Linked DNA regions of Homo sapiens: all the other regions are linked to region 5. The links are contacts of gene promoters, found by promoter capture Hi-C in human tissues and cell types (Jung and others, 2019). All regions are on one chromosome and are shown on one strand. The core of a region is centred on a gene start or on the middle of the fragment in contact, and the rest is flanking DNA. Distances in the headings are between cores, read along the strand shown. Region 1 overlaps LOC107986002 (a long non-coding RNA gene). Region 2 has its middle 190 kb from the start of ACKR3. Region 3 has its middle 140 kb from the start of ACKR3. Region 4 has its middle 220 kb from the start of ACKR3. Region 5 holds the start of ACKR3 (atypical chemokine receptor 3).

The links. The method cuts DNA at HindIII sites, captures the fragments that hold promoters and counts their contacts. A contact is called where the count stands out against the background at its distance.
Region 1: a fragment that was not itself captured here is called in contact with the fragment with the promoter of ACKR3 in region 5 in 1 of the 25 tissues and cell types used here (liver).
Region 2: a contact is called between a fragment that was not itself captured here and the fragment with the promoter of ACKR3 in region 5, in 1 of the 25 tissues and cell types used here (bladder).
Region 3: a contact is called between a fragment that was not itself captured here and the fragment with the promoter of ACKR3 in region 5, in 1 of the 25 tissues and cell types used here (bladder).
Region 4: a contact is called between a fragment that was not itself captured here and the fragment with the promoter of ACKR3 in region 5, in 1 of the 25 tissues and cell types used here (stomach).

What each region holds. Positions count from the first base shown.
Region 1 is chr2:236,804,518-236,809,247 of GRCh38, forward strand. LOC107986002 (a long non-coding RNA gene) reads left to right here. Exons shown (of 3, transcript XR_001739954.1): 2 at 3,313-3,427; 3 at 4,158-4,238. Among named protein-coding and RNA genes, the nearest start is that of ACKR3, 240 kb to the left of the region's middle. The HindIII fragment of the contact is 9,709 bases long and covers 1-4,730 here.
Region 2 is chr2:236,761,272-236,766,345 of GRCh38, forward strand. No RefSeq gene overlaps it. Among named protein-coding and RNA genes, the nearest start is that of ACKR3, 190 kb to the left of the region's middle. The HindIII fragment of the contact is 3,834 bases long and covers 1,207-5,040 here.
Region 3 is chr2:236,707,498-236,712,181 of GRCh38, forward strand. No RefSeq gene overlaps it. Among named protein-coding and RNA genes, the nearest start is that of ACKR3, 140 kb to the left of the region's middle. The HindIII fragment of the contact is 6,573 bases long and covers 1-4,684 here.
Region 4 is chr2:236,782,857-236,787,753 of GRCh38, forward strand. No RefSeq gene overlaps it. Among named protein-coding and RNA genes, the nearest start is that of ACKR3, 220 kb to the left of the region's middle. The HindIII fragment of the contact is 7,217 bases long and covers 1-4,897 here.
Region 5 is chr2:236,565,798-236,571,086 of GRCh38, forward strand. It overlaps ACKR3 (atypical chemokine receptor 3), which reads left to right and starts at 4,028. Exons shown (of 2, transcript NM_020311.3): 1 at 4,028-4,127. RefSeq lists enhancers at 1,513-2,388, 2,389-3,264 and a silencer at 2,038-2,087. The HindIII fragment of the contact is 7,550 bases long and covers 1-5,289 here.

The sequences.
Region 1 (4,730 bases), core at 1,078-3,577, 240 kb after region 5:
AAACTTGCAGTTCTTTGATTACTAATAATTTTAAATTTTGTTTCATATAATCATTATCAATTTATATTCATATGAATTTCTTGCTCAAGATTGTTAAATTTTTTATTCGTGTGTGTGCATATATATATATATATAGAGAGAGAGAGAGAGAGAGAGAGAGAGAGACAGAGAGAGATGGAGTCTCGCTCTGTTGCCCAGGCTGGAGTGCAGTGGCATGATCTCGGCTAACTGCAACCTCCGCCTCCCAGTTCAAGTGATTCTCCTGCCTCAGCCTCCTGAGTAGCTGGGATTACAGGCACCCACCACCAAGCCCAGCTAATTTCTGTATTTTTAGTAGAGACAGGGTTTTGCCATGTTGGCCAGGCTGGTCTCAAACTCTTGACCTCAGATGATCCACCCACCTCTGCCTCCCAAAGTGTTGGGATTACAGGTGTGAGCCACTGCGCCTGGCCCATGTGTTTATAGTCTACGTTAAAATTTTTTCTTTTATTCTGTACTTGTTATTTGTGCCCTTATCTCAAAAAGGTTTTGGTATAGCTTATTTGTTTAAAAGGTTTTAAAAATAAAAATAGATTTTAAAAACAAAAATAGACCAAAAGTAACAGAAAGGGAGAGAAATAAAACATAAGTAAACATACAGAACATACATAAAAAGGTTCCTATAACATCCCAGTACATTTAGGTCTGAGCTTCCCAATGGACAATGTGGAAAGGAAAAAACTTAACTTTTTTCTTGGAAAAGAAAGAGTATCTTTCTTCAAAGAAGATCAAATTAATGACTTTATTCAAATTTGAAGGAGTTTTTCATGTGGACTTATGCAAAGATTTTGGAAATCATTGCTGAAAATGTCTTTAGAAAAGAATATTAGACACCTAGTAGTTATTGTAAAATAATTCTGTAGTTTTAGATATGAAAACTGTTATACAAAGTCTAATTTATTGACTATTGGACTTTGGGATTTAAGAGACCACTTAAATACAACAAGCAAGATAAAGTGGATGGCAACAATACAATCATCAACTTCGAATTTTCTCATATAAAGATATTTCCTTACTCATATCTTATTCATATAAGATAAAAATTAAACTGTAAATAATTATGATGATGATTTCATTAATGTGTGTATTCTCTCACACATACACTCATAAAATCCCATTAGAAAGTTATGATATCAGAATAAAGAATAGAAATTTCCACAAACTAGCAGTTTTAATTACATGCACACATAGTCTTTTTTTTTTTCTTCCTTGTTTGGCATAGAGTTTAATCAGATTTAAAATGGTGAGAGTTCTGTCTAAGGTTGTTTGTCACTTTATTTTTATTTTTTATTTCCATAGGTTTTAGGGGAACAGATGGTATTTGGGCACATGAGTAAGTTCTTTAATGCACACATATTCTTGTCTCCAGGGTTTTCATTTAGCTATGCAGTCATAAAATCATTTTTGCTACTGGCCCCAGTCCCTGGACTGGTGTCTGGGAAGTACACTAATTCAGAAAACCGAGGCCAAGAAAATGTAAGTGCACTGCCTAAGATTACCCAGCTATTCAATAGCAAAGCTGGGAGGAGAGCCCCAGGCTCCTAATTCCTGTTTCCCTAAACAAGAACAATGGTCTGTAGATTGGAAGAGGAAAAGAATAAAAAAATCATAATTTTGATGTGAAATAGCTGGAGGGACAAAAAGAGGGTATCTTTCTGTGCAAAGGGACTAAGTGTCCAGGCTTAGAGAAACTGTGGAATCACTTCCCGGAACGTGGGGCCAAGCAGCAGATGTGGTGTACATCCGCAGACAGTAATAACTGAGGGACCGGGGAGGTGCCAAGAGGATGGATGTGCAAACTGTGGAATTCAAGGAACAGCTGAAGAACAGGGGCACAGCGGGCCCTGAAAACAATTAAAGAGGGATATTGTGTATAAAGTAATTTAAGTGGAGAGGTCTTCTATGCAATTCTGATTATAGAACTAGAACCAACAAGTTACTAGGAGGAGGATTTCTGGTAAATAATGAGGAATAGAGAAAGAATGTTATTTATTGTCCATTCCAGTCCCAAATCCCAGCAAATAAATATTTTAAAGAAATGTTTAATAAATAGAGCTTCACAGTGGTGAGTACACTGTCAAGAAGCAGTGAATCTTGATTTACTAGATATATTTAAACAAAGGGTTGGTAGAAATATGCCTGGAATACATAAAAATGGAAATATACTGTGGACATCTGATATCCTTGTAACAGGAGTCTCAGAAGGAAAAAGCAGATGACGGAGGGAAAAAATAATAGAAGAAAAATGTATTAAGCTTAGGAAAAATACCACTTTTTATTTAAAAAAGGGAGGGGGGAGCACCAAGCACCAAGAAAGAGTAATGAAAAAAGGAAGAGAAGAAGACCAATACCTAGGTATGTGCTATTGAAATTTTACAACTCTGAGCATAATTTTTAAACATCTTTTTTTTTTTTTTTGAGACGGAGTCTCGCTCTGTCACTCAGGCTGGAGTACAGTGGCGCAATCTCAGCTCACTGCAACCTCTGCCTCCCGGGTTCACGCCATTTTCCTGTCTCAGCCTCCCGAGTAGCTGGGACTACAAGTGCATGCGGCCACACCCAGCTAATTTTTTATATTTTTAGTACAGACAGGGTTTCACCATGTTAGCCAGAATGGTCTTGATCTCCTGACCTCGTGATCTGCCCGCCTCTGCCTCCCAAAGTGCTGGGATTACAGGCATGAGCTACTGTGCCCGGCCAATTTTAAAAAATCTTAATAGCTTCCTGAGAGAAAGAACAGGTTAGCTATAAAGAGATTAAAATAAAATTCAGATTATTTCCGATTCCTCAGCATCATGAGATAAAGAATAATGCCAAAGTTCTAAGAGAAAATTACTTTGAACCTGAAAATTTATACCCAGCAACACTATCCATCAAGTGAAGTCAAAATTATAACATTGTTGGCCAAGCATGGTGGCTCACACCTGTAATCCCAGCACTGTGGGAGGCCAAGGCAGATGGATCATGAGGTCAAGAGACCGAGACCACTCTGGCCAACATGATGAAACCCCATCTCCACTAAAAATACAAAAATTAGCTGGGTGTGGTGCCTCTGTGGTCCCAGCTACTCAGGAGGGTGAGGCAGGAGAATCGCTTGAACCCAGGAGGCAGAGGTTGCAGTGAGCCGAGATCGTGCCATTGCACTCCAGCCTGGTGACAAAGTGAGACTCCGTCAAAAAAAAAAAAAATTATTACATTTTCAGTGCAGCAAAGACAGAAAATGTATTCCCCTTGTACCCTAATTCACCTACTGGAAAACAATTTAAAAAACAGGTCATGTGGAATGGAAGATGCTATGGAAGCTGATTGGAACTGTGAGGAACTGAAATCATCTCCACCTGGAGCAATTAAACATGGACCTTGGAAGCCTTGCCTTTGAGAGGCCCAGGTGGGTCTGGAGACTTAGCATAATTTTTTCTTCTTTGCACATCCATTTAAACAAGTTGGTTCTACAGTGAAATATTTATAGTCTTCATTTTATATGGCTTGGAGTTTGGGTCATTTCCTTATATAAAAGGGGACAAGGTGCACTTGTTTTTTCTAAATCGAATTAAATTCAGTTTTGAGTACCGACTCGTCAAGGCTGGCAAGAAGTGTCTGCCATTAATGGCATTAATAGGCTTCTTGCTTTCCCTGAGCCCAGTGCCATGTGCCCAGAACAACAACGGGGAAAAGCCATGGTTCCTTTCCCTTCATCTGAGCATTGACTGTAATGTCCTTGGCTCCAGGATGCCGTGGTGAGTGTGGTCTTTAGCTGTGCGATGGCTGCAGCTGCTCATCTGCTCTAGGAACCCGAGTGAGACCCTTCCATCCCCCACCCGTGGTCCCTCCCTCTCCAATGTTTCAGCATGAAAGAGGGACACTCACTGGTCTCATGGCCTCACAGGTGGTCATGCTGCCCCATCTGAGGTCCTGTCGGCCCTGCACAGTGCCTCCTAGCCAGGCTCACACCATCCCTGTGTTAAGGGAGCCTAGCTCACGGTCTCCTCCCAGCCCTGGTTCAGCTGCCTCTAGAATGACAGTCTTGCTCCCTAAAGACTCCTCCCTTGATTTTGGTGGGGAACCTATCCTGTCACCTGCAACATCAGGGTGACCCATCCGATCACCTTCTTTTCTAGGGCAACCTGTCCTACCTACCAGCTGCCCCATCAGGGGGTAATCCACTGATCACCTCCCTCTGTTGGCACAGCAATCCTGACACCTACATCTGTGGGGCAACCTTCCCTATCACCTGCACCTTTTGGAATTTTGACTCCACCGTGGAGCCTAAGTGAAGCATGGAGTCTGGGAAAACAAAGCAGAAGCCACTTATTTGAAGAAAGAGAAAATCCCACCCATCCTTTCACCGTGAACCTGGAGTCCCACGGCTAGCTGCTTAGCTGGCTGCACTGTCGCGTTAAATAGTTTCCCTGGAAGAGAAATTGTCCTCTTAGATTTTCATTCGTTTTGTTGTTTCCTGTGGATTTTGGGGAGAGGAGGAGCATCTCCCCTGCACAGCTGCAAACTCAGGTTAGCTGGGTTATACTCCTGTGCCGGAGCTTGCAGCAGGTGATCAGGCCTGTGTACATGAGGCTGTGGAGAGGCAGGGTGGGTACTGGGGCCAGGGGACTTCCAGGAAATAAAGCTCCTACCTGAAATGATAAACAGAGGAATATAGTTTAGCCAATTAGAGAGAAATTATTTCTAAAAAC
Region 2 (5,074 bases), core at 1,874-4,373, 190 kb after region 5:
GAGGACAACCCACCTTGTTCTGAACATTTTTGAAACCTTAATGAAAAGCACAGCACAACACGGTCAATGGGCAGAATGTGGCATCTACCCTACCACGTTCCTTCACAGTCAACTCCCCTCCATATTCCCAGCCACTGACAATCATGGATGTGCTTTCTGGACCTACACACTTGCCTTTTCCAGGATGTCACAGAGATGGAATCAGGCAGTCTGTGTTCTGTTGGGTCTGGCTTCTTTCACTGTGCCTAATGCTTTTGAGATTCATTGATGATTTTGCACGTATCAGCAGTTAATTCCTCTTTACTGCTGAGTAGTGTGGCACTGTGTGGTTATATCACAGTTTGCTTATCTATTCCCCAGTTTAGGGACTTTAGGGTTGTTTTGAATTTTTGACAATTATGACTACAGTTGTTATGAGCATTTGTGTGTAGGTTTTTGCAAGGACGTATGTTTTCATTTCTTGTGGGTGAATATTGAGCAGTGGGATTGGTTGATCGTATGATGTCTGTGTTTAATTTGTTAAAAACTGCATTTGTTTTTCTCGATTTGTGTTCTCTCTTATTTTTCTCACCTTGATTTTACCTGCCCCTATTGTCCCTTCACATTGATCTTTTGACTTTAAAAAATTCCCTTCATCGTTTTCACCCCTGGCTGCTCATCAGAATCATCTCTATGATGTAAAACCTTCACTACAGATGCCAGGGATGTTTAGCTGGTCTGAGGAGGGAAGGACTTTTCTCTGTATTTTAAAAATTCTTCATGTGTCACTCAGGTTATCAATCAAGGCTGAGAACTCCTATCTGAAGCATATAATTTAGAGGTGCAGAGGGTGAATAGGAGAAACACTAAAGATGCTAAACAAAACAAAATCTAGGGCAGGTGGAGGGATGAAGCATACTTGCAATGTGCCTTTCATCTCTCAGAAGAGAAGGAAGTGCCAAGGCCTACCAGGCATGGGTGATGAGCTTGGACACAGATGTGTAAGTATATTGTTCAGTGCTGTAATGACAGCCCCAGGAAGAACTCAAACGGAAATGCTTACAGAGGTTGTCTCTGCACTGTGGGGTGGGGAGCAGGGGGAATGGAGGAATAACTTTTTCTCTTCATTTAACATCTTCCTGTACTGAGTGAAATATTTTTACCATGTCCATGCATTACTTTTATCATATTTTGGAATATGAGTTTGAATAAAAGATAAATTGCTGGTGTGAAGTGTGTGTTTGAAGGCATATTGGCAGTGGTAGTGGTTGGTGAAACATTTGTAGGAATGAATTCCAGCCTGGAGTGTTGGGAAGAGATGGAATCCAGGATCCAGAGAGAGAGGCCGGCTTTAGAGACGGTGGAAATCTGTCCTGGGTGGAAGGATGATGTGGGTGAGGGTCCTATGTGTGGAGGGTTGGTGAAGGCACTGGTGTCTGGTGGCTGCTCTCAACTCCTTTCATTCACGGAGGGTGTGGTGGATTGGTGATTTATGGAGAAGAGGCTTGTTGTCAGGGGTGGAGCAACTTTCGTGGAGACAGAGAGTGATGAGTGACTGCCCTGGGCAGTAGCAATAAAGTTGACCAGAATCCTGGATTCCGGGATGGCTGGGTCCCTGCCTAATGACGTCACCTGCTGAGACATAGGATGATGACTCCACAAAACCCCCATCACTGTAGCTCCCCAACATCCTGGAGGCCTGAGATAAAAGCAGGGGAGGATGCGTTTCATATTTTTTTAAATCATAATCATATAAGGGTTCAGATGTAGGATTGGAAGGGCAGGCCCCATTTGTCCCTTTAAGGTCTTCCCTCCCTTCTGGCCCCAAGAGTATGAGGGGAAGTCACTGGGATGCTGCCGACTGTCCCCAGGACACCTGGCATTGTCCCTGTGCTCCCTGGGTTCATGCTGACATTGTGGTGGGTAGGTGCCAATGTGCAGAGCCCACAAGGCAGCACCTCCTCACATTTCACACCCTCAGGGCCTCACATGCCTCAGCAAAGTGAGCCCCTCATCAATATCACGGCAATTCTAACTAGGAGACGCCACAGAGATGGCAAAGTTTATTCTTTTCTTTTTCATCTTCTAAACATAACTGTGGTTTCAATTTGGGAATAAGCGAATAAAGGTTTGTTTTGCGTCAGGAGATTTAATTTTTTTGCCCCTTAACTATCTTTCTTCTTGCTTTCCATGTGTTTCGAATATCTGCAGTAAATAGAATACAGTACTTGTAAGTCTTGAGAAACACATTGAAAACAGTTTACCTCACTGGACATTTGTAAAGAAAATTCAGCAAAGTGGTTTGCTGCCTTCTGGATGTGGTTGTGCACTGTTCCCACAAGGACAAGATTCCCAAGTTCTTGGCCACATTTTTAAGAGAAAAGCCTTAATTTCACAGGGAGCAGGTGATAGAAAATTTTCGTGTGCATTTTTCACAGAATAAAGCAAATGAAAGCCAGCATGTGAATCCCATTTGCTAAGTGTATCCTGACACAATCAGCTGATTTTTATGCATCAGAGCACCTAAAACTCCATCAATTTTTCTAAATTTTCATATGCATGTCAGTAAAGCTTAACAGTAAAAAAGAGTATAATTTTAAGAGTTTCTGATTTTTAATGATTTTACATAGTGTTCTTTGTCTTACTCTGCCTGTCCCTTCTGTTGGAAAAATTGGGTCTCATCACTCACTGGGTGAGATGACAGCCCAGGCAGGCTGCACAAATCACTCCACTAGCGGCAGCCCCGGAGCTCCTAATGGTGTTGGAAAATGTGTGTGCCTCGTGCACCCTTCTTTAGAAAATATGAATTTAGCGATGTGGTCATTGGTGTTTCTTCTTAAATTTCAGATGCAGTGTCCTAGCATCTATCATGTACAATAAATAACATGGGTGGACTCTTTGCAAACCACATATGGTTTCCACGTGCAGCATTTGTCTTCTCAGAAGCGGGATGACAACAGACCACACTTTGTCAGGCTTTGGGCCTAGCAAAGGTGCTTAAGGGGCAGAGTTTTCCCTTTAACTGCATAAGCCTTCCATTTGCCTTCTCTGATCTGAAGTAGCAGACTTAGGGCACATAGGTTACAGGGAGCTGACTTTTGCTGTGCAATTCCTGTGCCCCTGGATGTCAGATACTCAGGTGGCACATGCCCTGCTCAACCCAAAAGCTCGAGCAACATAACAGCTGAGTGGCTGCAACATAACAGCTATCTATTCCCCAGTTTAGGGACTTCGGGGTTGCTTTGAATTGTTCGAATTTAGGGTTGCTGAGTGAATTGCAGCAAGCAACAGATGCTGCAGTGTGTGTACGTGTCCATCTGTGATGTTGGAAAGGTGGGGATGGTTGATGTTGGTCATATCGGCACCCCTTTCCCATGCGATCTCCCAGATTATTCCAGACCTTGTTCAGGGACCTCCAGATGTTCCTGACAGGTGCCTTTCAGACACCTTAAGCCTCTGCTTTCCTTCTCTGCTTCTCCATTTCCCTCTGCAATGAGGCTAGGAAATCCATAAAAAATGCCTGCTCTTACCTCCAGGGTTATGTTGCTAAGTGACTCTGCCCTCCAAGTCACAAGAGCCAATTCCCAGGGCTTGGCCCATCTCCCTTACTCCTGCACCTTTTCCCTTGCCATCCCTGCCATAGCAGCTCCCAGGCACAAAGCTGGAGCAAAGGCGTGGGATGCCTTCGTGCATAAACTTGCCAGTTTCCTTTTCCCTGTTCATGTTGAAACTGGCAAGTTTATGCACCCAGGTGTTAGTGGAGGTGTTCTCTGTTTTGTTTGTTTGTTTGTTTTGGTCTTTGTTATTTTCAAAAGGAGACAGGAGACCACAAGCTTCCTGGCCAGCTAGGCAGAGAGGTCTCAGGCCTGGGCTGAACTCTCTGCACACAGCCATAGGATCTAGATACCTGGCCCTACAAGGTGTAGCCCTCAGCTGGCTGTGTGCAGACCCTCTCTCTGTACCTGCAACCTCCTAACCCCACCATGAAAAAGCCTCGTGCTGGAGAGATTGTGGTAGTGGGTACATCTGTACCTGCTAGTATGTGATTGAAGATGCATGCTGAGAAAATCAACTGGGAAAGACCCTCTTCCTAAAGTTTTCTTTCCAGAAAAACACCCTCAGGTGCTTGAGAGCCAGTTCCAGAAGTGATCATGATGCTGCACATACTCTCTAGTGGGCCTTTATTGCCAAAAAGTGACAGGCAGCTCATTGAGTGTCCAGCTTAAAGCGTCTAGAGATGTTGGCTGAGCTGGCCCTCAACGTTGGCTCTTTCTGGCTTTGGAAGTGCAGACGCTCTTGCCTGTGCCCTTTGTCTGTTTTATGGTTCCATTAAGTACATGATGGCTGATTTTATGAGCATAGCCTAAGATGACAGCACTGGGCTCTGCAAAGGCATTTCTTTAACTTCCTGAGGAGCCTTTATTCTCTGACAACCAAAGCCATTTGATCCCACCCTGCCCCCCAGCTCTGGGCTCTTAATCCCTCTTGTTTACAGTGAGTTTAATCTCTGTCATATTTCCCATTTAGCTGGACAAATCCCACCCTCCCTGGACTGAGCCATGTGACCACATCAGTTGGGTCCAGTGACAGGGGTTTTAAATGTGTCTATCTCTTGAAAGAACAAACAATCTTCAAAGCCTTAAACCCACTCCCATAAATAGTCTTTGAAGGGCATTTAAAGGCAAAACTTGATAAACAGGATCAGAGAACGGAGTGATGAGGACCACCCTAGCATAGAATAAACCAGGTTTTGAAATAAAAAATTAGTCAACTTTTCTATTCAATGTGTGTCTTATGAAAAGACTAAGACCAGTTTTATAACAGTTTTGCACTTAAAAAAGCAAGAGAAACTTGACCCATGTGGTTCACAGGTAAATATTAGGCTCACAGTACTCTGCCCCAGTGTGGGACTATCCAGACACGTGGGTGTTTGGGGCTGCCATTCAGGGACTCAGGACCATCAAGGCAGGTTAGTAAATAAACACTGCCAAGAATACTAGGCATCACTTTTGATGTTAGAAGCCCTCTGTCCATCTTAAGGCGGTATCATAGCAGCTGGGCTTCTTTTCTCCTGTGAACACTGGTAATTGGTTCA
Region 3 (4,684 bases), core at 293-2,792, 140 kb after region 5:
CTGTCACCCAGGCTGGAATGCAGTATGTGATCTCAGCTCACTGCAACCTCTGCCTCCTGGGTTCAAGTGAGTCTCCTTCCTCAGTCTCCCGAGTAGCTGGGACTACAGGCATGCACCACCACGCCCGGCTGATTTTTGTATTTTTAGTAGAGTCAGGGTTTCGCCATGTTGGCCAGGCTGGTCTCGAACTCCTGACCCCAAATGATCCACCCACCTCTGCCTCCCAAAGTGCTGGGATTACAGGTGTGAGCCACCTTGCCTGGCCTGTTTTCCTGGCCTGTTTCCTGAATGCATCATGATCTACATACTCTGTTCCCTGACTTGAGACACAGATTATTTCTAATTTTTCTCTATTATAAATATAGCTGTGATAGATATGAAAATATATTTTATATCAAATTCTGCCTATATTTTTCCTGAAAAATATTTTAGCTAGATCTGATGTTGCTAAGAAGGGAGAAATAAGCTGGTTTTTAAATGTTTTTTCTCTAAAAGAGCATACAGTAAACATTTTTTGCTAAGTGCTCCGTAAAGTCTCCATCACAACTATTCAGCTCTGCCATCATACCACAAAAACATCCACAGACATTTGGGTGTGGCTGTGTTCCAGTAAAACCTTATTTACAAAAACAGCCAGTGGGCCAGATTTGGCCCGCCAGCCATAGTGAGCTGACCTGCTCTTCCAACACCAGCCTGGTCCACGCTCCGCCTGCCACTAAGGTAGCCTCTTTCTTCTTGCCTGGCTAACATCTGCTCTTCCATTAGGTTTCAGTAAATATTCGTTTCCCAGGGAGCTCGTTCCTGAGTCTTTAGAACGGATTCTGTCTTTTAGAACAGTTATCCCAGCTGTAATTAAAGAGATCTTTACAGAGAAAATCATTATTCGCTGATTCCCCTTCTTCATCTGAAATGTCAGTGGCGTTCTTGGCTTTTTCCTTCTTGGGTCTTCCAGGGCCTACCATAGATTTTCCACACAGAGGAAAATCTGATGTATTAAATCATGGGACGCAATGTACTTTTCACACCAACAATCCTGAGGCCCTGAAGGTCGACGCGTTAATCCTCACAACAGACCCATGAGATGAGCGTGGTTCTCGCTTTTACAGAAGAGCAAATGGAAGATCAGAGAAGCTCAATAACTCACACCAAGCCCCAGGGCTGGTGAGGGGAACGTTGACCTGGAAAAAGCTGCTGGCGTGCTCCACAGAGAGCTCACTCAAGGGACAGGAAGGCACCACCAATGGCCTCGATCCCATCGCCTCGCCTGGGGAGGGGAGCTGAGGAGAAGCCACAGAAGGATCGACTCATACTTCCATTTATTAGGCTTGGTCAGATCAAGGAGGCAAACTTGGCCTAGCTTTTACGCAGCCACTCAGTTTTCTAATCAAATGACTCCATCGAGTTATCAATTTGATCGACAGATATAAATTGAGCCTCCACCAGGTGCCACGCTGAGAATAGTATGGGGAGTGAAGCTGGCTTTCCCTGGTGACTCATGGAGAGGCAGACATTGAACTATCACACACACACACACACATGCACACACACAGGCACACACGCGCATGCACACACACACACATGCACACATGCACACACACATACATTCTCTTTCTTGAATTACAGCTGGGATAATTGTTTTAAAAGACAGAATCCATTCTAAAGTCTCCAGGAAGAGCTCTCCGGGACAGGAATATTTACTGAAACCCAACGGAAGAGCAAGTGTTAGCCAGGCAAGAAGGAAGAGGCTACCTCAGCGGCAGGCGGAGTGTGGACCAGGCCTGGAGTCGGAAGAGCAGGTCAGCTCACTATGGCTGGCGGGCCAAATCTGGCCACTCTCTGTTTTTACAAGCAAAGTTTGACTGGAACACAGCCACACCCAAATGTTTGTGGATATTTTTGTGGTACAATGGCAGAGCTGAATAGTTGTGATGGAGACTTACGAAACACGTATCCTCAAATATTTACTGAGTGGTCTTCTAGAGAAAAAGTTCCAAAATCCCAGCTGTGGAGAAATAGGACAAGGTGGCTGGGGCATGGTGAAAGAGGGGACATCGGTGGGACCCTATGGGCCTCAGGGACCACAGGAGAGAGTTGGATATGGTTTGGATTTGTGTCCCCGCCCAAGTCTCATGTTGAATTGTAATCCTCAGTGGTGGAGGTAGGGCCGGTGGGAGGTGATGGGATCATGGGTGCGGGTCCTTCATGAATGGTTTAGCGCCATCTCGGTGCTGTTCTCGGTGACAGTGAGTGAGTTACTGTGCTGTCTGGTTGTTTGAAAGTGTGTAGCACCTGCCTGCCTTGCCCCTGCTTTTGCCGTGTGAGCTGCAGTTCCCCCTTTGCCTTTCCTATGATTGTGAGTTTTCCTGAAGCTTCCCCAGAGGCTGAGGAGGTGCAGGCACCATGGGTCCTGTACAGCCTGCAGAACTGTGAGCCAATGAAACCTCTTCTCTGTATAGATTACCCAGCCTCGGGTGTTTCTTTATAGCAATGCGAGAATAAACTAATACAGTACCTTTCCTGAGAGATAAGAGAGAGCCACTGAAGATTATGAACAAACCAGTGAGAGGACAAGTTTATGTTTGTCTGTTTGTTTTTCTGAGACAGAGTCTTTCTCTGTCACCCAGGCTGGAGTGCAGTGGCTTGATCTCAGCTCACTGCAATCTCTGCCTCCCTGGTTCAAGTGATTCTCCTGCCTCAGCCTCCCGAGTAGCTGGGATTACAGGTGCCCGCCACCACGCCCGGCTAATTTTTGTATTTTTTTTTTTTTTAGTAGAGATGGGCTTTTGCTAAGTTGGCCAGGTTGGTCCCGAACTCCTGACCTCAAGTGGTCCGCCCGCCTCGGCCTCCCAAAGTGCTGGGATTACAGGAGTGAGCCACTGAGCCTGGCCTGATTTATATATTTTTTAAAATTACATATTTGACATAACAGTCCCTAATACTCAGCTTTAGGCTTGCTTTTCTTGATTTCTAGTAGTTCTTAATAAATATTTGCTAAATGAATGAAATAATCTTAGTAAAAGTTTTAGGTGACATTCAGATATAATGGAAACATGGTCATATCATGAAGTTCTTGATTATATTATATTTTTACCATAAGCCATTTCTTTTTAGAAAGTGTTCGTCCTGTAAATAAACAAACTATTCTCAAATGTTTTCTATTAACACTTTCTACAATTAATTGCTGTCCTTTTTGGTAGTGATATTCTAGTTCAATAATTTAGCTCAAAGCAGATTAGCTGTACACAGGGCAGGGTTATGATTGCCTTTATTTATTTATTTTTTTTTTGAGATGGAGTCTTGCTCTTTCACCCAGGCTAGAGTGCAGTGGCACCATCTTAGCTCAGTACAACATCCACCTCCCGGGTTCGAGTGATTCTTCTGCCTCAGCCTCCTGAGTAGCTGGGACTACAGGCGCCTGCCACCACTTCTAGCTAAATTTTTTTTGTATTTTTGGTAGATACGGGGTTTCATCATGTTGGCCAGGCTAGTCTCGAACTTCTGACCTCAGATGATCCACCCACCTCAGCCTCCAAAGTGCTGGGATTACAGGCGTGAGCCATTGTGACTGGCCTGATAATTACCTTTTGATTTTGCTGTGCTCGGTTGCTGCTGCCGTGAAGCCCAGTTCCCCAGCTGAATTGGGCATCAGTTCACAATGTAGAGCTTCCCAAGGATGCCAGGCCCAATGGGTCCATTTGCTTATTAGTGTTAGTTGACACTTACAGGTCAGAGCAAAAGTGTTAGTTCCCTCCTTGAGCAAGGTTGTCCTGGACAGAAGATACACGAACATCCCAGTATGACCATCTGGTCAACCTGACAATTAACTGCCCCTGCTGAAGCAAGTCCTGGGGGTCAAGGGACTGCTCCCTGGCCATGCCCATGCACACGAACACATACCCATGCACACATTCCCATGTGCACACACTTGCACACATGTATTTACCCTCATTCCTAATCACTTGTGTTCCAGTGGTCAGTGTGATGGGTAATTTTATGTGTTAACTTGACTGAGCCATGGGGTAACTAGATATTTGGGCAAACATTATTCTGGGTGTATCTGTAGGGCGTTTCTGGGTGAGAGCCACATTTGAGTCAGCAGAATGAGGAAAGTGGATGACCCTCCCTTGTGGGTAGGCCTCCACCCAGCAGCTGAAGACCTGGCTAGAACCAAAGGCTGAGTAAGCAGGAACTCCTCCTGCCCAACTATTTGAGCTGGGCCATGGGCAGTTTCCTGCTTTTAGACTCAGAGTGAAACACCAGCTCTTCTTAGGTCTCAAGCCTGCCAGCTTTGGGACTTGGAACTACACCTTTGGCTCTTCAGGGTCTCCAGCTTGCCGACTGCGGACGTTGGGGCTTCTTGGCCTCTATAATTGCATGAGCCAATTCCTTATAATAAATCTCTCTCTCCCTACACACCACACACACACACACACACACACACACACACACAATTGGTTCTGTTTCTCTGAAGAAATGCAGTGTATTAGATGAAGAAATACAGTGTATTAGATTAGTTAGTATATATAAACAATGGGATATAGGCATAGATATGGATATATATTATTATGGGAATTGGCTCATGAGATTATCGAGGTGGAGAAGACCCACAGGAGACCATCTGCAAGCTGGAGAACCAGGGAAGCCTGGTGGCCTAGCCCAGTCCAAGTCAGAAGGCCTAAGAACC
Region 4 (4,897 bases), core at 44-2,543, 210 kb after region 5:
TGGGACAGTAACATTTCTGTCAGTTCCCATGTCTGTTACATTATTGATTCCATCATTTTCTAGGAGCTCCAAAGAAATTGTTTTCTGAAATCCATGTGGCTTTAGGATTCTGAGTACAAATATGCTTTATTTTATAAGAAGTGAATTAATTCATGCAGCTCTCTAAAGCCACTAGTCAGGAGTAGAAACCATTGCCAGTAAGAACAAAAATACTAAAGAGAAGCAGAAATCCTACGCACATGCCCTTTGTAACTGATGTAATTGGTTTTTAAAGTGATGTAATTTAAAAAATACTGGAATGTTTTGCAATGACTCATACCTTAAGCCACATGGTCGGCATCCGTGAATGCTTGGCCACAGGTATCGTTGACAAATCCTTTGACCCTGTCATTCTGAAACCCATGCTGTCAGAGCCATAGTTTCCATCAAGAAATCTGGCCAACGGGATCCATATTTCCAGATAGTGTCCACATCATCCATCTATTCACACTCTCACTCAAAAAATATATCCTGAACTGTTATTATGGACAAAGCGCCAAAAATGGTGGTTTTTATCTTTTCTTTTTTTTTTTTCTTTCGGAAATGTGGTAATTAAGTCAAGTGTCAAAACAAATGCAACTGCTTGGCAAAAAAAAAAAAAAAAAATTGGCACTATTTCCTCTGAAGAAACAGACTCTATGCATGGGAATTGCTGAAAATGGGGCAAAAAGTCCCCTTGTACACTCTGCAGACTGCCCCCCTCCCCTGCAATCTAACCCTCTCATCTCTTGCCTCTGCTCTTGCAGCAGTTTCTAGACTCCCCTCCCAGTGTCCACTCTGCCCTCATCATCGTCATCCATAGAGCAGTGGCAGGGATTTTCACGTGGATCCCCACACCATTGCCCTGAGCAGCATGGGGTGTGGGTGCCCCAGGACACTTGACTCTGCTCAGCCCGGCCCCCACCCATCTCCCGCTGTTCACTCTGTTTGTTCTCCTTGGAATAAGACAAGATCATTTTTGCCTCTGGAACATTGCACTTGGCTGCTTCCTCTTTCTGGACTCCTTTCTGGGATATTTGCAAGGCCTCCGTTCATCCCACAGAGGGTCTGCCTCTGACCATCCCATCTCAAATAGCTGCTTCCCACCCACTCACAGTGGCTGACTCACACCACCTGGTATGATTGTCTTTATCAAAATGATCAGCCATCGATTTGTTTTGTACCTGAACATGTTTGCTGGTTTATTTCCTCCCTCTTGTTTCTTTTGTTCACCTCTATATCCCCTGTGGTTTTGTATGCTCATCACGCAGTAGGTGTTCAGTAAACACTTGCTAAGTGTCTTTGTTTTCAATTGCTGCTGTAACAAATTACTGCAAGTTCGATGGCTTAAAAACAACACACATTTGGCCGGGTGTGGTGGCTCACGCCTGTAAGCCCAGCACTTTGGGAGGCCAAGGCGGGCGGATCACGATGTCAGGAGATCAAGACCATCCTGGCTGACACGGTGAAACCCTGTCGCTACTAAAAATACAAAAAATTAGCCGGGCGTGGTGGTGGACACCTGTAGTCCCAGCTACTCGGGAGGCTGAGGCAGGAGAATGGTGTGAACTCGGGAGGTGGACCTTGCAGTGAGCCGAGACTGTGCCACTGCACTCCAGCCTGGGCGACAGAGTGAGACTCCATCTCAAAAAAAACAAAAAAACAAAACAAAACAAAACAAAACAAAAACCACACACACACGTACAAACACATTTATCCTCTGACCCCTGCATTCCTTCTGCAAGCTCTGATTCCCGGCCTTTCCAGCTTTTAGAGGCTGCCTGCATTCCTTGACTGATGGGCTCTTCCTCATATCACTCCCATCTCTGCTTTTGTGGTCACTTCTCCTTCTCTGACTCTGACCGTCTTATGAGGGTCTCCCTCTTATGAGGGCTTTTGTGATTATATTGAGCCCATCCAAGTAAGCCAGCATAATGACTCCATCTCGAGCTTCTGAACTCACTGACACCTTCAGGGTGTGTCAAAAGACACCTTCTGCCATGTGAGATACCATATTCATAGGTTTAGGGGATTAGGATGTTGGCATCTTTGGAGTCCATTATTCTGTCTACCACACTAAGAAAAGACATGCATGAGTGTGATTGCTTAAGAATACATCCACAACCTCTTTGCTTTTCCTCCCTTCAAGAGATGGAGCTTAATTCCTTTCCGTTTGATTGTGGGCTGGACTTAGCAAATTGTTTCTAACAAAGGAAGATGACATAAGTGAAGGTTTGTAACTTCGAGACTGGGTCGTAAGAGGCATCCTGACTTCCTCCTTGCTCTCTCTTGGATCACTGGCTCTGGGGGAATCCGCTGCCGTGGTGTGAGGATGCTCCGGCAGCTCTATAGAGGACCCACGTGGCAAGGACTGAGGCTTCCTGCTAGCAGCCATGTGAGTGAGCCATGGTCTAGGAAGTGGACTCCCCACCTCGATCAAGCGTTTGGAGGACTGTAGCCCAGATGGCTACAAGTTGTCTGTAACTTCAAGAGAGACCCTGAGCTAGAAGCACCCAGCCAATCTACTCCTAAATTCCTGTCCCACAGGAAAGGTAACATAATAGATATATTCATTGTTTTAAGCCACATTTGGGGGATAATTTGCTGTACAGCAACAGATAAGTAAAACAAAAAGCTATTTTAGAATTCCTCCAAACAAAAGAAAACACATTACTTTGTGCCTTGATAGTCTTTGGAACTCTCTTAGCCAACCAGGACCCCACCTCCCTGCAGGACAGGATCATCCCAATAATCACACTCTTGGAACTACGGTCTCTTCAGTTCCTTCTCCAGTACTCATGGTGCTCCAGCACAACATGTGAGTGGATGAGCTGGGACTCTGACTCACAGAACAATACACACAGTACATTTCAAGTATATTTCATTAGTCTATTCAGATCTCTCCTCTGGGTGTGATCGTTTTCATTTTCTTTCAAATTCCAATTCTGTTATCTCTTGGCTGCTGTTACTCCCAGATATTTTCCAATGTTGCCTGGCTACTGACAGATACAATTCTTCCCTCCCACCCTTTCCTTTATTTGCTTCTTCGAACAGCACGTTCACATGCCTTATCTAATGGCCCTCTGGGTCCTGCTTATCTTCAAGATCCTTCTCCCATTTCTCCCCTCTTATGGCGCCTTAGGCAGACACAGCTGGTAGATCACCTAGAAGAGGACCGTCTTGCCTGGTTTCTTTCTGGGCTGCTACTGCTTATCCCATGGCTGGATGTTTGTATCAGTCAGGACCAGATAAGCTATGCTACAGTAACAGTCAAGCCCAAAATATCAAGGGATTAAAAACTTTGTTTTCATTTGTTTGTCCCCTTCTCCACCCTGTCCTTCTACATGTCCACTGCTTTCTGGTTGGGGGCATGGACTCATCTCCATCTCACAGACCCTGGCTGACAGAAGCTCCATTCCTATGCTTCCATGATAGAAAGGCAGAAAAAAGAGAAATATGTTGAATAATATTTGCTCTGACGTTTCTCTGAAAGGGATCTATGCCCTTCTGATCTCATTTCATTTGCCAAAGCAAGTCACATGGCCACACCTAACCTCAAAGGGAGCAGGGAAGGGCCATCCTAATATGTGCTTGGAAAATGGAGAGTTGGAGATATTTGGTGAATATCACCAATGACTGCCACAATGCCATTGGTCTTTGGCCTGCCTGGCCTCTGTCTAAGCTCTGTAGGTTCTGTGGATAATCAGATAAGGGTCTCTTAGTTGCAACTGACAGAAATGTGACTCTGGTTGGCCTAAGAAGAAATGAATTTGTTGGCTTATGTGATTGAAAGTTTTAGTGGAAAGCTAAATCTAGCTTTCCAAAAAGCTATTAATAGTTCCAGATATTCAGAAAATGATGTCAGGAGTTAGTCTACACTGCCTGGCTCTGCTTTTGTCTGTGTTAGTTTATTCTCAAGCAGTCTCCCAAAGATGGAAGACTTGGACTTACAACCAGAGGAGAGATTGTCCCAGGAATTTCAACCAAAGTCCCTGGGGAGTTGCTTTGTGACTATGGCTGGCTGATTTGGGTCATGTGCCACATGTCTCAAATTAATCAGTGTGGACTAGCGGCTGTGACATCTCATTGGTCCAGGCCTAGTTCTTAGCCTTTGCCTGAGAGTCAGGGATGGGTCAGTCCCCAGGGAACTACCTTATCTAAGAGTAGAGGAGGGTGGGTCCCAGAAAGGAAGTCCAGGTGCTATTACTTGAAGACGGGAAAATGGACGCAGGGCAGATGGAAATCTCAGATATCCTCCCAGATATTCTTCGTGTTTTCTATTTCCCAGGCCACAAATAACTCACATGACCCTTGCATTCCCCCACCGGCCTGTGTTGCTATGGACTCATCTCCACCAGGACTCGGCTTCTTTTGCTCTGGGTTGACCTTGGTGGCAGCCTGGGCAGTGAAGTGGCACCAACTCATCATCTCCTGGATGGCGGGGATGAAGCTAAGAACTCAATCGTGATCTTTTAAAAAATTTAAGCCCAAGTATTGCATCTTCTAAGGGAACTGAGAACAATCAGATTCAAATATAAGCCCTGATATGGTTTGGCTGTGTCCTCACCAAATGTCATCTTGAATTGTACTCCCATAATTTCCGTGTGTTGTGGGCGAGACCAGGTGGGAGATAATTTGAATCATGGGGGCGGTTTCCCCCATACTGTTCTCATGGTAGTGGGTGGGTCTCACAAGATCTGATGGTTTTATCAGGGCTTTCCACTTTTCCATCTTCCTCATTTTTTCTCTTGCCACCACCATGTAAGACGTGCCTTTCACCTCCCACTACGATTCTGAGGCCTCCCCAGCCATGTGGAACTGTCAGTCCAATTAAACCTCTTTTTCTTCCCAGTCTCAGGTATGTTTTTATCAGACTAAT
Region 5 (5,289 bases), core at 2,778-5,277:
ATTCCCTTGAGTTGAGGGGCTGTCTTTGCTTTTAAGCCGTTGCCCTGCAGAAGGGGCTTGGTGTTGCGGTTATTCTGGGGGAGCGTCCAGTCCCAGGTGAAATGACTCCTGCCATGCCCAGCTACCAGATAATGAAGCTTCTTCCCAGGGTCACAACTCCAAGAATGAGGAACGCCTCGTCCTCAGGCCAGCGGCGCAGCTGAGCCTCTCTGGGCTCATATCACAGTCACCATAACTGCACTGTCTCCACTCTAACGGGGCTCCCAGATCACAGACCCTACCGGCCGCCGCTCTGGCCCGCCAGGATCCTCACGCTTTTAAGTCAGGTGCGGTTTCTGGAAGAAGCCTGGTGGTGCCACATCTACAGGCGAATCAGATCCCAGAGCAGACAGAGCTGACCACCTGCCCTGTGGGGCGTGCAACCCCAGGTGCAGATTACAGACAGGGAAGGAGGGAGGAGCTTAGCTGAAACCCCTTCCTGACCCCTTTCCAATAAGCACTCAGGGGTAGCAAAACATCCAGGAACTTTTAGTTCTGGGTCAGCTGGGACAGCGGTAGGGACAGCGTCCTGTTCGTGCCTTCTCTGAGTTTTCTATTAGGTGCCACCAAACACATTCCCACCCAAAAGAACCATTATATTGGACCTTACTGAAAAGGTTAAAATATGCATTCTGGCATGGTAACTGTTTCAGTGAAAGGCACTTGAAAAACAGCAGGTGCAAGATCACTCTCCCCATAGCAGAAGGAAGACAGCATCCTTATCCTTAGGACTAGAAGCTGCCAGCTAAAGAATACTGCAGAGCGTCACTCTAATCTTTTTAGTCACATTTTCAAAGTTTATTCTTCTCTGTTTAATCCAGTATTTAAGTAGTGGACGCGAACTGCTTGCTCGGGTCTGTCCCTCTTTCCTTCCTTTCCTTCCCTTCCTTCCTTCCTTCCTTCCTTCCTTCCTTCCTTCCTTCCTTCCTTTTCTTTGCTAGGGCCTGCCTTTCTCTGTTGCTTTCTTTCTTGCTTTCTTTGTTCGGGTCGTCATCTCTTTCCTCTTTCTTTCTTTCTTTTCTTTCTTTCTCTCTCTGTCTTTTCTTCCTTTCTCTCTCTGTCTCTCCCTCTTTCTTTCTTTCCCCAAGGAGGATTTGCCTGCCTGCCTGCCTGCCTTCCTTCCTTCCTTCCTTCTTTCCTTCCTTCCTACCTTCCTTCCTTCCTTCCCCCTTCCCTTCTTTTTCTTTTGACAGAGTCTCACTCTGTCACCCAGGCTGGATTGCAATGGTGCAATCCCGGCTCACTACAACCTCCGCCTCCCGGGTTCAAGCGATTCTCCTGCCTCCCGAGTAGCTGGGATTACAGACGCGCGCCACCGCGCTGGGCTAATTTTTTGTATTTTTTAGTAGAGATGGGGTTTCACCATGTTGGCCTGGCTGGTCTCGAACTCCCGACCTCGCGATCCGCCCGCCTCGGCCTCCCAAAGTGCTGGGATTACAGGCCTGAGCCACCGCGCCCGGCCGGGTCTGCATTTCTGTATGAGGGCTCCCATGCCGCGTGAAACTTGCACTATGCTTTCCTCCTATTCATCTATCTTATGTCAATTTAATTCTCGGACCCAGCCGGGACCCCTAGAGGATGGAGGTGGAGTTCTGCCCTTACACTGAAAGCACAATCTTCCAAAAGCAGAGACACTCTTCAAAACTTTGAAAAGAGACTTTTAGGTCCTAGGGCAATGGAATCTCGTTTTCTCAAAAAGCCCTGCTTGCTTACCCTCTCGTTTTCCCCCAGGCCTGTTTTCTGGGACAGGGTGGGAGGCCCAAGGAGACAGCCAAGTTCAGGCCCCAAGCACCCAGCTCCTCCTCCCAGGGTGGGAGCCTGGCCAGAGTTCCCGACCCACCCCGCCCCATTCCCCGCTGGCGCTTGGTCCGCCCCTCCCCGTCTGGAAGCCTCCAGCAGCCCCGCCCGGCGGAACTAGGGGACGGGTGGGGGACGTCGAAGGGCGAGGGCGGTGACCCCGGGGCCAGAATTCTCGCAGGCGCCTGGGCCGGGTGCCCGGCCGTGCGTGAGTGCGGAACAAGTCTGGGCGCGGGGAAGGGCGTGGGTGCGGGCCGTGGGTGGGTGCGGGGCAGGGCGCGGGGCTGTGGGAGGGCGCGAGGCCGTGTGTGGGTGCGGGGCTGGGTGCAGGCCGTGGGTGGGCGCGGGGCCGGGGCTGGCGGGGCAGGGCGCAGGCTGCTGCAAGGCGGCCTCGTGGATTCTGGCCCCGGACGCACGAAGCGGGTTCTACTTTTTAAAAAAACTGCGTTGCCTTTTCCTTCCTCTACGTTAGCATCCTGTCCGGGGTCCCCGGCCCATGTGGCCTTTCTTCCAGCGACAGTACACTTAGCTCAGAACGGATTGACACCCACTCTGTGTTTCCACCGGGCGCGCAGGCTCTGCAATGCGGAGCGCGTTCTCTGAAGGACAGGCCCCGGAGTCACGGCTACAGCCACAGAAAGCGGAAACCGAGCTGCAGTCCAGAGGGGATCCCCGTACATTTCCAGCGGGCTCAGACACAGGGTCCCCCACAAGAAAGAAACAGGACAGAAAAAGTCAGGACACGTATGCTGTGGAGAGTCGAGGTCTCGCCTAGATCTTGGGTGTGGGTAGACGCAGCCGCTGGCAGTTTTCCTTTCCAGCGTCTCTGGGGAGCCTGGAGATGTCCTTGGTGCCGATGTGACACGAAGAGTGATTGCGCCGCCCTGCAGAGGCGGTGGCGGGACGCTGCGCTCGGGCTGGGAAAGGCCGGCCCCAGGGCGACCCCTCCGGAGGCCCCCGGAGAGCAGGTGTGCACCTCGCCTCCCGCTGGGCAGCCAGTTCAGGAGAAAAATGTGAAGCTTTTAGCTAAACAAAATATTTCTTTCGTTAAGGGCTTTCTCCACACGGAGACTTTCTAGCCACGTGAGACTTTGACCTCCCAGTCCCCCAGATTCAGCGCTGGGACCGAGCGTCTGCTGTTATTTTTAGTAGAAGTATAAAAAGAATCTCGAAAAGTTTTAGCTCTGGAGAAGGCGTGAATACAGCTGGTGCCTTCATACACTCCACTTGAGCCGCTCTTTAAGAACTCCAGGAGATCAGAAAGCAATACGAAAGCCAGAGCATTGCACATGGGATGGGCTGGCGGGTGGCCTTTGGGTCCCTATCTTATGGACGATTTTTGTAAATGGGGCATTGGAGATGAGTATCACCTGGATCACATTTTTAGGTTGAATTCCTCCGTGGGGGGAACTTTAGCAATACGCATCCAAATAAGAATGTAGATTGCAATAATTGTAGTAAAGTGTTTGCCAGACTCATCTCAGAAAAAGACATTATCAAAAGGCATTTATTATCTTCCTAATGCGTGTCTGGCACTGGGCAGACACTGTAGAATACTATCTTGATTAGAGTCTCAAGGATTTTGTACTTAAAGTCCTTTACAAATAAAAGTATTCAAGTATAATCTATTATAAAGACTCTTTTCTCCACTTTGGGGATATACGGTGTGGCATCGATTCATTGGTCATACCAAAACTGTTACTTCTGTTTTGGAGGAATTAACAAGGAAAACCCAGGCTTAGTAAATCAACATCGAAGTTCAGAAGTTCAGAGTAATTTGTCTTGGGAACAAAGTCCTCCCTAGAGCGAAGAGGCATTCACAGGAGCTCTTGGTGTTAATGGGATTATTCAAGATATACCTGAGACCAGATAAATATTTGATGATTTTGCCAAGCACTAGGGTTTCTTTGCAGTTTGTCTTTGGCTGACGTTTTCCCCCCGTGGGGTTTGGACTTTGTGGCTTCACCAGATTTTGCAAATGAAAGAAGGCTGGGGTTTCCCAAGAGTACACTTGTGCAGGAAACAACAGACTAGTGAGGTTTACAAGAGGGGGGTGTGTGTGTGTGTGTGTCTGCCTGTGGGATGGGGGTGGCACGGGGGAGAGAGAGATGTGGGTTACAAAGCTGCCATCTAGAGGCTAGAGGCTCCTTTCTGCAGTGTATATAATGCAAGTCTGCAGCCAGCAGAGCTCACAGTTGTTGCAAAGTGCTCAGCACTAAGGGAGCCAGCGCACAGCACAGCCAGGAAGGCGAGCGAGCCCAGCCAGCCCAGCCAGCCCAGCCAGCCCGGAGGTAAGGAAACGGTGCTCGGGCAGCAGCTCTGCTCGGAAAGAAGGCACGGCTTCTGCTCTTAAGCCAAGTGGTCTTTTCAAAGGCCTTCTTTAAAATCGCTCAGATGGGTGCTTTTGAGTCTGCGGGTCTGGTTTCTGAAAACCCAGGCTGCACGCAGCTGCATTGCAAAGTGCTTTTGCTAATTCGGAGGGCTTCACCTTTCTCTTCAGAAAGCAAAGGGCAGTTTTCTTAAGTCACTTGCAGAAGGAAATTTCCATGTGTATTTAGGAATCTGGTGTTTATTTGCTGTGTGGCTATTTAAGCTCCAGTAAGCAGGGGAACTTTGCAAGAACACAGACTATCCATTCTGCCTGACCAATTTGGCATGGGGATTAGCTTGGCACCCACTGTTTACCTGTTTTGCTTCTAGTATATCAGTTTGGAAACAGATAAAATTGGCAGTAAATACGTAATTCCAGAATGATGAACACTTTATTAAGAGGCATCCTTAAATGGAGCAGAAAACTGCTGAGAATCTTTGTGAGTCCAAGATGTATTTGAATTCAGTACTTTGGGGGATTTACCAGAGTCTGTAAGTCCGGAAGCTATAAACGTGAATGTTAAACACAGCCCGGTCTTCTCTTCTCTTGATGGCACGCTTGCTAATCTAATTTGAGTATTGTTCTCTTAGAAGGTGTTAAGTCCAACTTCAATTGGGGTTGGGGGAAGCACACACACAAATCTACTATTTTGCAATTTAAATATACTCTTCAGGTAAAATGTGGATTTTGTTCAATTTTGTTGGCATGTGCAAAGATTCAAGGAGTGACTGAGAGAACTTTGGAGTGAGGTCAGGGATGGGTGGTTAGCCAAGACTTGTAACTTCCAGGGAGAATGAGAAGTTGTAAAAGTCAGACTGGCTGTCTCTCTTTCTCTCTTCCTCTTTCTTTCTTTCTTTCTTTCCTTTTGCTCACAACAGGATTACTTAGTGTTTCAAAAGTGGGAGAGAGCCTCCTTAAATGGTTTACAGCCCTTTGAATGTATTTGGTGCAGTGACATCCCCTGAAACTTCAGTCTGCAAAGTCTCAACATGGTAACTTTGTTCTTTTCTTTTTTAAAGGCAGATGCTGCTTTTAGTGTCCCTTTATTTATTCCAGGAAAAATGTGGACATCAGCTAGGCAC